Linked DNA regions of Homo sapiens: all the other regions are linked to region 2. Evidence: promoter capture Hi-C in 16 types of primary human blood cells and fetal thymus (Javierre and others, 2016). All regions are on one chromosome and are shown on one strand. The core of a region is centred on a gene start or on the middle of the fragment in contact, and the rest is flanking DNA. Distances in the headings are between cores, read along the strand shown.

What was found. The method cuts DNA at HindIII sites, captures the fragments that hold promoters and counts their contacts. A CHiCAGO score of 5 or more calls a contact.
Region 1: a contact is called between a fragment that was not itself captured here and the fragment with the promoter of DMAP1 in region 2, in 5 of 17 cell types (endothelial precursors, megakaryocytes, M1 macrophages and 2 more). The highest score is 10.5, in endothelial precursors.
Region 3: a contact is called between a fragment that was not itself captured here and the fragment with the promoter of DMAP1 in region 2, in 3 of 17 cell types (endothelial precursors, megakaryocytes and erythroblasts). The highest score is 9.4, in endothelial precursors.
Region 4: a fragment that was not itself captured here is called in contact with the fragment with the promoter of DMAP1 in region 2 in 11 of 17 cell types (endothelial precursors, neutrophils, fetal thymus and 8 more); the score reaches 10.7 in endothelial precursors.
Region 5: a fragment that was not itself captured here is called in contact with the fragment with the promoter of DMAP1 in region 2 in 2 of 17 cell types (endothelial precursors and neutrophils); the score reaches 6.7 in endothelial precursors.

The regions. Positions count from the first base shown.
Region 1 is chr1:44,577,675-44,580,374 of GRCh38, forward strand. The region is part of intron 2 of RNF220 (ring finger protein 220); the gene reads left to right. Among named protein-coding and RNA genes, the nearest start is that of MIR5584, 34 kb to the left of the region's middle. The HindIII fragment of the contact is 6,321 bases long and covers 1-2,700 here.
Region 2 is chr1:44,212,053-44,214,752 of GRCh38, forward strand. It overlaps DMAP1 (DNA methyltransferase 1 associated protein 1), which reads left to right and starts at 1,419. Exons shown (of 10, transcript NM_019100.5): 1 at 1,419-1,806; 2 at 2,298-2,389; 3 at 2,651-2,700. The coding sequence starts at 1,702. RefSeq lists a silencer at 728-827 and enhancers at 1,225-1,519, 1,258-1,497, 2,263-2,700. The HindIII fragment of the contact is 5,612 bases long and covers 973-2,700 here.
Region 3 is chr1:44,556,736-44,559,435 of GRCh38, forward strand. The region is part of intron 2 of RNF220 (ring finger protein 220); the gene reads left to right. Among named protein-coding and RNA genes, the nearest start is that of MIR5584, 13 kb to the left of the region's middle. The HindIII fragment of the contact is 1,696 bases long and covers 477-2,172 here.
Region 4 is chr1:44,635,147-44,637,846 of GRCh38, forward strand. It overlaps RNF220 (ring finger protein 220), which reads left to right. Exons shown (of 15, transcript NM_018150.4): 7 at 399-442; 8 at 884-1,016. It overlaps LOC107984950 (a long non-coding RNA gene), which reads right to left. Exons shown (of 2, transcript XR_001738031.2): 2 at 92-1,311. Among named protein-coding and RNA genes, the nearest start is that of SNORD145, 35 kb to the right of the region's middle. The HindIII fragment of the contact is 4,145 bases long and covers 1-2,700 here.
Region 5 is chr1:44,613,770-44,616,469 of GRCh38, forward strand. RNF220 (ring finger protein 220) reads left to right here. Exons shown (of 15, transcript NM_018150.4): 3 at 396-528. Among named protein-coding and RNA genes, the nearest start is that of SNORD145, 56 kb to the right of the region's middle. The HindIII fragment of the contact is 7,670 bases long and covers 1-2,700 here.

The DNA.
Region 1 (2,700 bases), core at 113-2,612, 370 kb after region 2:
GTGGTAAAATACTGGGGACAATGGCTCACGCCTATAATCCCAGCACTGTGGGAGGCCGAGGCGGGTGGATCACTTGAGGTCAGGAGTTTGAGACCCACCTGGCCAACATGGTGAAACCCCATCTCTACTAAAAATACAAAAATTAGTTGGGCGTGTCAAATGCCTTTTTTTTTTTTTTTTGAGAAAGGGTCTCACCCTATCCCCCAGGCTGGAGTGCAATGGCATGATCACAGCTCACTGCAGCCTTGACCTTCTGGGCTCAAGTGATCCTCTTACCTCAGCCTCCAGTCCCAGCTAATTTTTAGATTTTTTGTAGAGACAGGGCCTCACCATGTTGTCCAGGCTGGTCTTGAATTCCTGGGCTCAAACAACCCTCCCACCTCAGCCTCCCAAAGTGGCTCAGATGATGGGTAGAATCTTCCAACCAGATGAATGCAACTGGGATTTTCTTTCTTTCTTTCTTTCTTTCCTTTTTTTTTTTTTTTTTTTGTTGAGACAGAGTCGTGCTCTGTCTCCCAGCCTGGAGTGCAGTGGTGCAATCTTGGCTCTCTGCAACCTCCACCTGCCGGGTTCAAGCAGTTCTCTGACCTCAGCCTCCCAAGTAGCTGGGATTACAGGCGTGGGCCACCATGCCCAGCTCATTTTTTGTATTTCTAGTAGAGATGGGGTTTCACCATGTTGGCCAGGCTGGTCTTGAACTCTGGCCTCAAGTGATCCTCCCAAAGTGCTGGGATTACAGGCATGAGCTACCGCGCCTGGCCAGTGGGATAAGTATTTCAATTTGAGTCCATGCCAAGGGAAGGAAGGCTAAGCTGAAGAGAAGCTCTGGGGGTTATTTGATAGTAAATTTAGAAGAAAGAAGTCGGCAAGTGCTATGGGCCCCCATGCATCTACTATTATTTGGATCCCAGAACACTTCAGGGGATAGAGAGTTCTGTTCCACTCTGCACTTGTCAGGTAGCGGTAGATCCACCTGGAGGACAATGTCCAGTTTGGGAGAAGAGACACTGATCAACAACTCTAATCACTCCCACAGACCACAGACCCTGATAGTTTGCCAAGAATGACACCTGCCTATGGTTTAGCATCCTTGATCTTCACAAATATCCTGAGAGTGGGATAATAACAGTAGCTAATATTTATTGAGTGCTCACAGTGTGCCCAACATTCTTTATTCTGTTTTCCACACAGAAAATCATGCAATCCTCAGGCCGGGTGCGGTGGCTCACGCCTGTAATCCCAGCACTTTGGGAGGCCGAGGCGGGTGGATCACGAGGTCAGGAGATTGAGACCATCCTGGCTAATACAGCGAAACCCCAACTCTACTAAAAATACAAAAAAATTACAGGCAGGCGCCTGTAATCCCAGCTACTCGGGAGGCTGAGGGAGGGGAATCACTTGAACCCAGGAGGCAGTGGTTGTAGTGAGCCGAGATCACGCCACTGCACTCCAGTCTGGGTGACAGATCGAGACTCTGTCTCAGAAAAAAAAAAAAGAAAAAGAAAGAAAGAAAATCATGCAATCTTCATAACAACCAAGAGATGGGTAGACTAACTGCATATTTCAAATGAAGAAGCAGGCAGAGGGGCTTAAGTAACTTGACCAAGACCACACAGTCACTGAGCAGTAGGACCAAGACTCAGACCCAGACTACCGAGGAGTCTGAGCAAAGAAAGGACAGGGAGGCTTGATGGAAATCAACACTAGTTGCTTTACTAAGTGCTAGTGTGCTGCATCTTAATCTCTCCCTAGACTTGGACCCCCAGTCTGAGCTTTGACTCTTGAGTTCTGGCGCTGTGGGGCCTAAGAACAGGGTGGCTCCATCACTGGGGCAAGCAGCCTCTTACATGTGAGCCTGTTTGTCTAAGGGCAAGAATGGGGAAAACTGTGTACTTGAAGCTATTTGCTAGGACTTTGGGACAGTTGGTTCTGGACACTCATCCGAGACAACCAGCTATTTGTGGATATTGTTTATTCTTTCTGCTCCTCTCCTCATACTGTGACTTCTGCTGACCTCCTCTGCTTAAGTAAGTCCCCACTGAGGTCCTGACCTATCTTTGGACCATGTCCTGAAGAAGTTGTTCCAGGCCAGGCATGGTGGCTCAAGCCTTCGGGAGGCTGAGGTGGGTAGATTGCTTGAGTCCAGGAGTTTGAGACCAGCCTGGGCAACATGGTGAGAATCCATCTCTATAAAAAATACCAAAAAATTAGCCAGGTGTGGTGGCGTGCATCTGTAGTCCCAGCTACTGGGAGGCTAAGGTGAGAGGATCACTTGAGCCTAGGAGGCAGAGGTTGCAGTGAGCCATGTCATGCCACTGCACTCCAGCCAGGGCAACAGAGCAAGACCCTGTCTCACAAAAAAAAAAAAAAAAAAAAAAAAAAAGAAAGAAAAGAAAGAAAGAAAGAAAAGAAAAGAAAAAGAAAGAAAGAAAGAAGAAATTGTTCCATGGAGAAGGTTGTCCCTTCATCTAGTGTTAGGATAAAGAAACTGAATCTCAAAAAGATGAAGAAACTTACTCAAATTCCTGTTGCTATTACATAATGAAGCTGGGATTTTGAACCTTGGGCCTCCAACTCCAGATGCTGTGCTTTTTTCCCCTTTTCCCACCATGACAATAGAAAATGGGCCTAATGTTCTCAGCAGAATAGAACTGGAGTGCCTATGGGTCAGGATATTTGAAATCGGGTCATGTTGGAAAT
Region 2 (2,700 bases), core at 169-2,668:
TCTCCTTCTCCACTAAATATAAGCTCCACCAGTAGCTATTTGTATCTCGTTCACCCACTGCATGCCCAGAGTCTAGAATAGTGCCTGGCACATACATTCCTTTATGTACTGTGATCCCTGTCTTCACAGAAATGAGTCTATTAGAGATATATATTAAACAAGTAATTACACAATTAATTAACTACAACTAGGGTCAAGTGTTTCAGGCAGCCAATTGCTCTCTCCCTTTCTGGCTCCAAGGACCATTTCCTTACCCTGTGGACAATTTCTGCTGTAAGACTGTGACTTCCTCCGGCAACTGTTTGGAGCTCAGTGGATCCATCCAGGAATCAGACCCAGGAACAGGTTTGTACCTCCAGGCCTAGTTCTCCAAAGTTTTGGGGACTAGTCAGGCTTGTGGCTACAGCTGTTGTATCCCCTTGTCTTCTCCAGGCCAGAACAGGCTACACCACTTATAGCTAACTTGCGCAAACTGTCTGCTCCTCTAGTCCCTGCTGGTATCTTTGGCAGGTCTCGACTTGGGGTCTGGCCTTCTTAATGCCTTAACAAGCCCCACCCTATCCCACAGGCTATGTGTCCTTCAAATTGACAGGCTGGTTTGCAGACTGCTGAAGCTGGGAGCTGCTTTCCTTGTCCCTTGTGCCCTTCCTCAGGACCTCCTGTCTCTCTCTTTCCAGGAAGATCCCCAGGTTTATTCCCTTGAGGGATACTTCTAAGCTGGTTCCTGCTTGGGGCTGTGTTTTGGGCTTCTTCGTAGCCCAAAGAGTGCAGCTAGCTCCTGTACTAGTGAAGTGCCACGAAGCTGGCCTCCAGGAAATCCCCACGAGGCCACAACCCACAGCTATCTCCATCAGAGGAGGTGCAAATGAGGGCCCACACCTTACTCCATTTTGGCAGCCGCCCTAGGAAGCTCTGCCTTTATTTCTTCATCTTCAAGCTTATCACAATTTGAAGTTTATCTCTTCACCTCCAAGCTTAGCACAGTGCCTAGTACATATTAGCACTTAATGAAGAGGGGGCAATTCAAATCATTAACTCATTTAATAAAAAAATAGTAAATGTCCCACGCACCGTGCTAATGTTTTACAAGGATTCTTGGTATTTCATTTACACAGGTGCCATTACAATTTCCATTCGGCAAATAAAGAAAAAGGTCCAGAGAAATTAAGTGACTTCCCAAAGTCACAAAGTTCTGGTATCTCTTCACTGCCTGAGACGCAACGGAGCATCGTAGAGGGAAAATGCCAGAAAGCAGGCAGTGCACCAATGAAAACAGGCTCGCGGGAGAACCAAAGGGTGGCAAGCTCAGCACGGCCAGTAGCTTTCACCCTCGGTTGCCAGTCGGCTTCGTTTCCTACAACACCGACCGGAAGTGTTTCTGTCGGCCGCGTTCCGAATGAGCACCGCCGGAAGTTTCTGCCGCGGCTTTGCGGGGACGGGGGAGTGGTAGTGGGGGCTGCAGCTGCCGGACCCAGGTGCGGAAGTGCGAGGGCCCAGGTGGCTGAAGGGGCCGTTAGGAACATCCAAGCGGTGGGGCACAGGCAGATCCCCGACCTGACCTGGACCACCCTTCTCCTCTTGGCCCGCCCCTTCAACTCGCCTCCGCTTAGGTCTGGATTGGCCCCGCCCCCTGACCTGAGCCTGGTCCTTCTTCAGGCACTGACCCTTGACCTCCGGTGGCTCCCCCATCTCTCAGGCGCGATGGCTACGGGCGCGGATGTACGGGACATTCTAGAACTCGGGGGTCCAGAAGGGGATGCAGCCTCTGGGACCATCAGCAAGAAGGACATTATCAACCCGGACAAGGTAGCAGGGGCACCTGAAAGCGTTGACTAGGGGAGGGTAGGGGAGTGAAGATGGGGAGGAGTGACAACGGGCAAGGGATGGGTGCTACACTTACAGTGAGTTGGGCGATAAAAGGGGTGACATAACAGGACAGGGAATATGTGTCATCCTTGATGGGAGGGAGGAGATGGGACATCGTGGGAGATGGTGGGACCAAGAGGGTATGACACCTCTAAGAGCTGAGAGGACCAGGCAAGTGTGATTTTTGCAAGATATTGTTGGGGAGAGATCAAGACATTGTAACAGTCTGAGAGTTGGTGGGATGGGGAGGGGACTGCTCTGATTTGGGCGTAGGATGGTGTTCCTGGGAGTGGGTTTCTGTGCCTTTACAGTGTGTCAGTTTGCCTGTCATTGACCCTGTAGGTGCTGCTTTGTTCAGGGATTGAGCTGGACTAAAGAATTTTCAGGAAAGGGTCTAGGTTGTGGTTCCTTTCTGTGGTTTCCTTCCTCAGAAAAAATCCAAGAAGTCCTCTGAGACACTGACTTTCAAGAGGCCCGAGGGCATGCACCGGGAAGTCTATGCCTTGCTCTACTCTGACAAGAAGCAAGTATTGGAGTCCCAAGTCCCCCAGGTTTTGGCCCCTGATTCACCTGCCATGCCCCTAACTCCTAGTTTTCTCTAACAATTTTCTCCTCCCCAGCAAGGGCTCCTGCTTGCTTAGCAGGATGCAGGAGGACCTGAAGTCTTTTGCTCCAGGACATGACTTTCTTGCTATAGGGTAGGGTAGATCAGCTCCCTGGGACAAAAAGCTCTTTAACACACCTTCTGATTCTAACCTCGCATCTCCCTAAACCTCCCTGCCAGGGATGCACCCCCACTGCTACCCAGTGACACTGGCCAGGGATACCGTACAG
Region 3 (2,700 bases), core at 75-2,574, 340 kb after region 2:
TTTTTAGTAGAGACGGGGTTTCACTGTGTTAGCCAGGATGGTCTCAATCTCCTGACCTTGTGATCCACCAGCCTCGGCCTCCCAAAGTTCTGGGATTACAGGCGTAAGCCACCGCGCCCGGCCTCTTCCTGTTCATTTTTAAGCAAAGTTCTCCTCTTTACAGATGTTGCTAGACAGGGAGGGGAACCCATGGTGCTCACTATATCACTGAGCTGAATGTCTTTGCCCAGTGAGAACCCCAGGGTGCCCGAAATGGCTGAAACAATCCCTCCGCTAATAGGGGACCCTGGGCCCTCATTCTGCATCTCTCTAGGGGCTGAGTTGAAGGAGCTTCTTTCTCAATCCACATACATATATATGTGTATATATGTATGTATATGTATATATGTATATATATTTTATATACGTATGTATATATAATATATATACATATGTATATATTAATATATAATATATATTTTATATATATATATATAAGCTTCTTGATAGAAACTGTTTGTGTTGGCTGGGCGAGGTGACTCACACCTGTAATCCCAGCACTTTGGGAGTCTGAGATGGGAGCATCGATTGAGCCTAGGTATTCTTTCTAGACCAGTTCTGGGCAACATAGTGAGACCCTGTCAAAAAGGAAAAAAGGAAGAAAAAGAAAGAGAAGGAAAGAAAGAGAGAGAGGAAGGAAGGAAGGAGGGAGGGAGGGAGAGAGGGAGGGAAAGAAGGAAGGAAGGAAGGAGAGCGAAACTGTTCATTTTTACATCTTGCACAATGCTTTGCTCATAGTAGGCACTCTGAACTGAAATACCTTGAAAACTAGGATCATCCATATTCACTCGTTCATTCATTCATTCATTCACTGAACAAACTGATTAAGGGATGTACATGACTGTGTCTCATAAATTTGTCCAAAGATGTTTAAATTCATTTATGTTTTCTGCTAGACCCACCATTTGGGAGAATGAATTTCTTAAGTTCACTGGCCACGGTATAAAATCACCTTTATTCATCCCAAATGTGTTCGAGTTTCAAAGCAAACCCACTTTGCCTACAGTTTCAGGATCTTGTGAATAAGTTTCTAGTCACCTTCTCTACACCATTTGTGATTTGTGATTTCCTTCACATCCCCCACCAGCCTTCTCACTTCCAGACTGGGTGGTGAGTCATCGACCCTTCCCCACTGAGGAGCTTTTGCATGCCCTGCGTCTTCTCCAGGGTGGGACAGAGTGCCACGGCTGAGCCCTGCGGGTAGGACTGTTCCAGCTGGGCACCTCAAGGAACATGTTCTCCTTCTTCCGTCACATCTTATTCACAGTTCTCTTAGCCTTTTGGCCAACAGCCTCAGGGAACTGTCTAAATGAAGAAGGATTTCTAGGTCCTTTGCCAGAACCGTGGCTGACCATGCAGAGTTGAGCACTGGAGAGGGGGTTTTGATGTGTTCATCACAAAAGGCATTGCCTTGCACTTGCCCACATTTAATTGAGTCTGTACCCTTTTGCCCTGAAATCATCCTGCCAACTAAATCCAAAAGGATGCTGGAGAATAGAGAATAACATCTATGGCCCAGCCCCCACTGTATATGCGTATGCACACCAAGGGCCATACCTTTGGCTGGATGCCTAGGGCTCTTTTCTGGCACCAGGTGAAATATCAGAATCTTTTCCACTGCTCCCTGTCTAATTCAATCAGATATAAAATGTGTAAGACTTTGTCTAAACCTTCAAAGACCTCCTAGTAGGCTTGGGGAAGAAATAGACACATATGATAGTACCATTAGTGGTAGCATCTACTGCATATTAAACATGTCCTATATGCCAGGTGCTTTATATACATCCTTTATATTGAGTATCAACTTTAATCCTTACAACAGCCCTGCAAGGTGAGTATTTTTACTCCATTTGATAAATGATAAATGAAGCAGAGAGGTTAAACAACCTCCCCCAAGATCACGCAGCTAGAAAGTTTACGGAGCTAGAATTCAGACCTAGGTGTGTCTTACTCCAAAGCCTGTGTTTTTTGCCACCACCTTACATGATCTCAACATATAGCAATCAACATGACATGTTATAGCCCCGGTGAAAGAGATCAGTTATTGGACTGTTTTGGTCTCTTCTAGGTTACCTGTCACCTGTCTCAACCCAACTTTTTCAGACCTTAGCTTAAAGTTCGTTTCCTAAGGGAAGCTTTCTCCAGCCCCCATGATGCATTCCCATAAAGCCAGTTCTTTCCCTCACAGCTGTTGTTTAGGCAATTGTTTGTGTAATGTGTTCCTTTCCTGTTAGAAGGCAACTCCGTGAGGGCAGAGACAATGATAGTTTTGTTCAGTGTTTTGTCCCTAGCGCCTAGCCCAATGCGCAACACATAGTAAGTGCTCATTAAACTTGCCTTCTCGCTCCAGAACCTCACTTGCTTTCTAGTTCTCCCCTACTCCCCTGCCCTTTCCACCTTGCCTCCAGAACTTCCTTCAGTGGTGATGGCTCCAACATCCCCCAGCCCCAGTCCTCAGCCTTCCAGATGCTTGGGTATCCCAGGAGTTTTATTCACACTGCCACGCTGTTCTGTGGAAGCAGGGCTTCCCCTCGGCCCTAGCAGGGCAGGTGCTGACAGGAGCAGCCAATAGCCAGGATGCCAGGTTTCCCTGTGCTAAGCTTTTTCCTGGGAATGATTTAAGGCCCTGAACAGATAAGTGAAGAGCAAACCCGCAATGAA
Region 4 (2,700 bases), core at 108-2,607, 420 kb after region 2:
CTAGTCAAGAGATGCTCTTTAGAGTTGTATTTCCTGACACCAAAAGAGTTCATGGTCTTGGCCTTCTGGAGAGATACCTAGCAACATGGAGTGTCTTTGCTCACTGGATTTTTATTAAACACTGCAAATAGAAAGGTATGGGTAGACCTTGCACCAGCTGCAGCCAAAGAGTGGACTTACTCACTGGCTTAGTTAGCACCAGTCTCCTCCCCAGGTGCTCTTGGCAAAGCCCAGTCCCCAAAGGAGCAGGAGGTATTTCAAGATGAGGGCCAGATCAGGCACTGAATAAAAAGGCCAATGGCTGGCAAGAGGTCAGGATGTGTCAGCTCCACTGGGACCCTGGGGGCTGCAGTGACCGTCTGCTTGTTCTGTGCTTTGTTTTCGGTTTCCCCGTGCAGCTCGGATTGGGAAAATGAAACGGAGGAAGCAAGATGAAGGGCAGGTATGTCCCCTGTGCAACCGCCCCCTGGCAGGATCGGAGCAGGAGATGAGTAGGCATGTGGAGCATTGCCTTTCTAAGGTAGAGGGGCCATCACCACCCACCTTCCTTCCCCGCTCCCTTCCCCCGACACTAGCTGCTGACTGCCCCTGAATCTGTGGGCTCTTGGGGTCTCCATGTGGTCTCAGCAGCTTCTTCCCTTCTGACCACTGCTCTCTCCTTTTGCTTTCACTCTCACTCATTCCCTCCTTGGGCTCCAGCGGAAAACTATTGGGAAGAGGCCCAGGTCTTTGACCTCTAAATTGGTTTGCTTCAAAGGAGCCCTAGAGCTGAGGGCCCACTTGGCACACCACAGCTGGGGCTAGAGCTGTGCCTTCGTTGCAGACTGTGGGGAGCAGGTGGGGATGGCCTGGGCCCAGCATGATCCTGCTCTGCTCTTCACAGAGGGAAGGCTCCTGCATGGCTGAGGATGATGCTGTGGACATCGAGCATGAGAACAACAACCGCTTTGAGGAGTATGAGTGGTGTGGACAGAAGCGGATACGGGCCACCACTCTCCTGGAAGGTGGCTTCCGAGGTACAAGCAGCTGACACGTAGACATTGGCACTCTGGTGCCAGGCCTCTGCTGGGTATCCATCTGCTGGAAGCCAAGAGGCCGAGGCTGGTGGCTGGTCATCCATCCGTTCCACCACGTGGGGACTGCTGCTGGTGGGGCTCCTTTGTGACCGTGCTGCCTGCCTGTGATGTGCATATTAAAATGGATGTATTTGGGTGGGGAAATGGAATTGTGAGGCTGCAAGCTAGGAGTGACGAAGGGGGGCTCTCAGCTTCGGGTGATGCATTGAAGGTGACAGCCAAGCCGCGTTAGCACCTGCATAAAATATTAAAGGGACGGTTATGCATTTATCACTCCATCCCTCTTAAGGCTGATAAATGAGAATCCAGCAACCTGCTGTACACCTCCAGCACTGGGGGCCCTGAGGGCTTCCAGGCAAACACATTGGATTTTCCTCCTCCTCCTCTTCAGCCCTATGTCAGGGAAATCAGTTACAGAGGAGAGTGAGTTATGGCAAAATTTGACCTCCCATGAGCTTCATTGGTGAATCTAATTTTAGCTCTGATCCCATCCCTTCTCCCTGGGCGCCCTCTGCCCTGAAGCAAGAGGGGCCTGGGCCCAGCTGCTCCCTCCTTCCCTTGGGCTCTCCCCAGTTGCTACAAAGGAGTGTGCAGGGCCCTGCCCATCTCCAGTGCCCTCCCAGCTCCTTGGAAGAGCAAGGCTTGACACCCCCCACCAGGTCAGACAGCAGAATTGGTTGGGTGCCCAGGGTTAGTGACTTGTTAAACTCCCCAGCCTTGGGCAGGGGAAAAGGGGAGCTGTCTGCCTCTTGGCCTCCAGCTCTTCTCTCTTTCTGTGCACAAGCACAGCTGGTACTGCAGCTTGTGGTCATTAAGTGAGCCAATCTGCTTCCCGTCTGCCTCTCTCTCTGGGCAACACCTTTGGGAATACTGCTGTGTATGGTCCCTGGGGAATCTCACAGCAGCTGGGAAGAAGTTCTCTGCCTTCGTGGGGCCGTGCTACCTGGGCAGATGCTGAGGAGTGGTCTCTGCAGGGCCGTCCAGTGCAGACTGGTTCCACGAAGGGGCTAAGAGCCCAGATGAGACATTATGCCTCTGGGCGTCTCTCACATTACCCAGGTGTTTGGGGGCAAGCCAAAACATAAATCAGGAAGGTTAGTCAGACCAAACAGTCTCCCTGAGCCGGAGCTGGAGAGTGTTAGTTTGCCATTTCACTCATCCCGTACTGGAGCCTTCGAGTATCTGAGGCCCTAGAAGAGTGAGCAGCAGGGCTGACGACTGTCCCATGAGTTGGACACATGGGTGTCCGATGGCAGCCACACAGGGTCAGTTTCAACGTGCTGCTCTGGTTAGCTCTGTTGGCAGCTGCAACTGCTCACATCCTCCATTGCTGTGGCACCTTCTTAGGTTCCTTGGCACAGACCTGGACCTGATGGCTTCTGGGCACCAGACAGGGCTTATGGAGGATAAAGCTGCAAAGGGCCTGCTGATTTGACAAGAGTATTTCCCCTGTGCCGGGATGCACTTGCACAGCAGTGTGAGGGGCTCTTAGGCCCCGGGCGGGTATCCGTTTTCCCTGAGTGTTTACACTGTGAGGTTGTTCCTTTCAAGAATTCCTGAGGGGAGTTCAAAGGGGGCTTTTCTTTGAGCGATTTGGAGAGCGAGAATGAGAGTGAGACTTGAA
Region 5 (2,700 bases), core at 54-2,553, 400 kb after region 2:
AGGAGGCTGAGGCAGGAGAACCACTTGAACCCAGGAGGCAGAGGTTGCAGTGAGCCAAGATCACGCTACTGTACTCCAGCCTGGGCAACAGAGCAAGACTCTGTCTCAAATTAATTAATTAATTTAAAAAAGAAAAAAAAATAGACATCCCATGGGGGATGTGTCCTAATAGATTTCTGAGAGGGGTGGCTGGCTGAGGAGGTACCATTCATGGCCACAGCCTCTGGAGCTGCAAGGAGGAGGGGTGCTCGTGGGCTCTGAAACCCTCAGGCCCCTCCTCTAGGCCAAGAAGCCCTAGAGGGCAGCAGCAGGCTTGGGTTTCAGGACTGGGATGCTGGGTCTGCCTCCTGGACTAGCCCAGCTTACGCGTCTGTCTGTTCTTCTCCCCTCACTAGGTAAGAAGAAAGCAGCGGCATTGTTCGACAGCCAGGCCCCAATTTGCCCCATCTGCCAGGTCCTGCTGAGGCCCAGTGAGCTGCAGGAGCATATGGAGCAGGAACTGGAGCAGCTAGCCCAACTGCCCTCGAGGTAAGCCACCTCCCAGGGAGCCTGCCTGCTGGAGGAGTCCACTCAGGGTTCTGGCCACCGGATCCCAGAAGCAGCCGCCTGGCCCATACCCCAGCCCCTCGGGAAAAGACAGGACCCTGCCACCCTTCTCCACAACTCTGTTTCAATCCTCAGATCTTTCCGCTGAATGGAGCCACCTTCCTCTTCTTGCTCTATTTTTGGAGATGGGAGGAGAGTGACCCCGCAGGCCCCAGCCTCAAAGGAAAACATGAGAGGAGCTAGACAGGGGTGAGCCACTGCCAAAGGCCCAGCACTGCCATGTTGAGCCTCAGAGCAGAATAAAAGCAGCAGGTCCTAGGCCTGGCAGGCCCCTCAGAAGTGCAGCCAAGTCCTTCCTCCAGTGGGGTGGACACTACCTTCTCTATGAATCTCAGTGTCTGAAAGATGACAATCTTAAGAATGTGCTCAGGTGTGTCCCCCACTGTCCCACCCCACCTCACCCCCAGCCTCCCTCCCTTGTCCCTGCCTGAAGGACTGGGCTGAGCCTCCTCAAGGGCCTGGTGGAGGAGCCAGGTTATCAAAAAGAGTAGAGGAGAGGTGTGACAAATTACCTAAAATCTTAGCAGTTTAAAGCAACCATTTCATTGTGCTCGTGGAATCTGTGAGGTCAGGAATTCAGATAAGGCACAGAGGAGATGGCTGATGTCTGCTCCATGATGTCTGGGGCCTTAGCTGGGAAGACTTGGTGGCTGGGAGCTGGGTCATGTGAAGGCTGCTTCCCTCACATGTCTGGGGGTTGATGCTGGCTGTCAGCTGGGACCTCAGCTGAGGCTGGAATCAAAGCACCTACACAGGGCTTCTCCATGTGGCCTGGGCTTCCTCATAGCTTGCCAACCTCGGGATGGTTGGACTTCTTGCATGGCAGCTTTGGGCTCCAAAAGCAAATGTTCCAGCCAACGAGATGGAAGCTGGATCACCTTTTATAACCTAGCCTGAAAGTCACTGAATCTCACTTCCACTGTATTCTATTGATTGAGGCAGTATTAGACCACCCAGAATTCAAGGGGAGAGGACATACACCCCCCTTTTGATGGGAGGACTGGCAAGGTCAAATTGTAGAAACGTATGTGGGATGGAAGATATGGTTGATGCTGTCTTTGGAAAATATAATCTGCTACTGAGGGACGGTCTGCCCCGCTCCTCCCAGTCCGACCCTTATTCAGTTCAAGTCATCAGACTTGACTGATCCTCCTTCCTTCTACCTTCTTACCGAATCCCCATGCAAGGTGCAGGGGATCCCATAGTGAATCAGAATGGTCCCTGCCCTTGGAAGTTCATAGCATGAGGGTAGGGAGGGTCAGGCAGTACAAACCCAGAGGGATGGAGACTGCTATACGGGAAGAACTGGAGCTTGGGGGTATCAAGGAGGCACCAAACCCAGCACAGAGCAAAGAAGGCTTCCTCAGAAGGTAAGGCCTGAGCTGAATTTTGAAGGAAGAAATATTTAGTCATCTATCGCTGTGTTACAAACTACCCTAAAACCTAGCAGCTAAAACAACATACATGTATTATCTCAGTTTCTGTGGTCATCAATTCAGGAACAGCTTAGCTGGATGGTTGTGGGTAGTAGTGGCTACTGGCTGGGAGTCTCTCATGAAGCTGCAGTCAAGATGTCAACCAAGGCAACGGTCATCTGAAGATCTGACTGGGACTGCAGGATCTGCTTCCAAGATGCTCACTCACATGGCTGTTGGCAGGAGGCCTCAGTTCCCCCACATGTGGGTCTCTGCATAGGACAGCTTGAATTTCCCTATGACATGGCAGCTGACTTCCCACAGAGCATGCAGTCCAAGAGAAGACTAAGGAGGGTGCCACAGTGCTTCTTATGATCTAGTCTGGGAAGTCACACACTGTTGCTTCTACTCTATTCTATTCTATTCTGTTCACTAGGAGCAAGTTGTCAAGTCCAGCTCATTCTCAAGGGAGAAGAATTAAGCTCTAGAAGCTCTACCCATTGAAGGGAGGAGTATGAAAGAATCCATGGGCATATAAGACTATACCAGTGATAATAATAATAATCCTTGTTGAATGCTCACTATGTGCCGAGTACTTTACATTGCATTAATTTATTTAATCTTCACAACAACCCTCTGAAGTAGGTGACAATAATTGCTCCCATTTTACAGAGGAAGA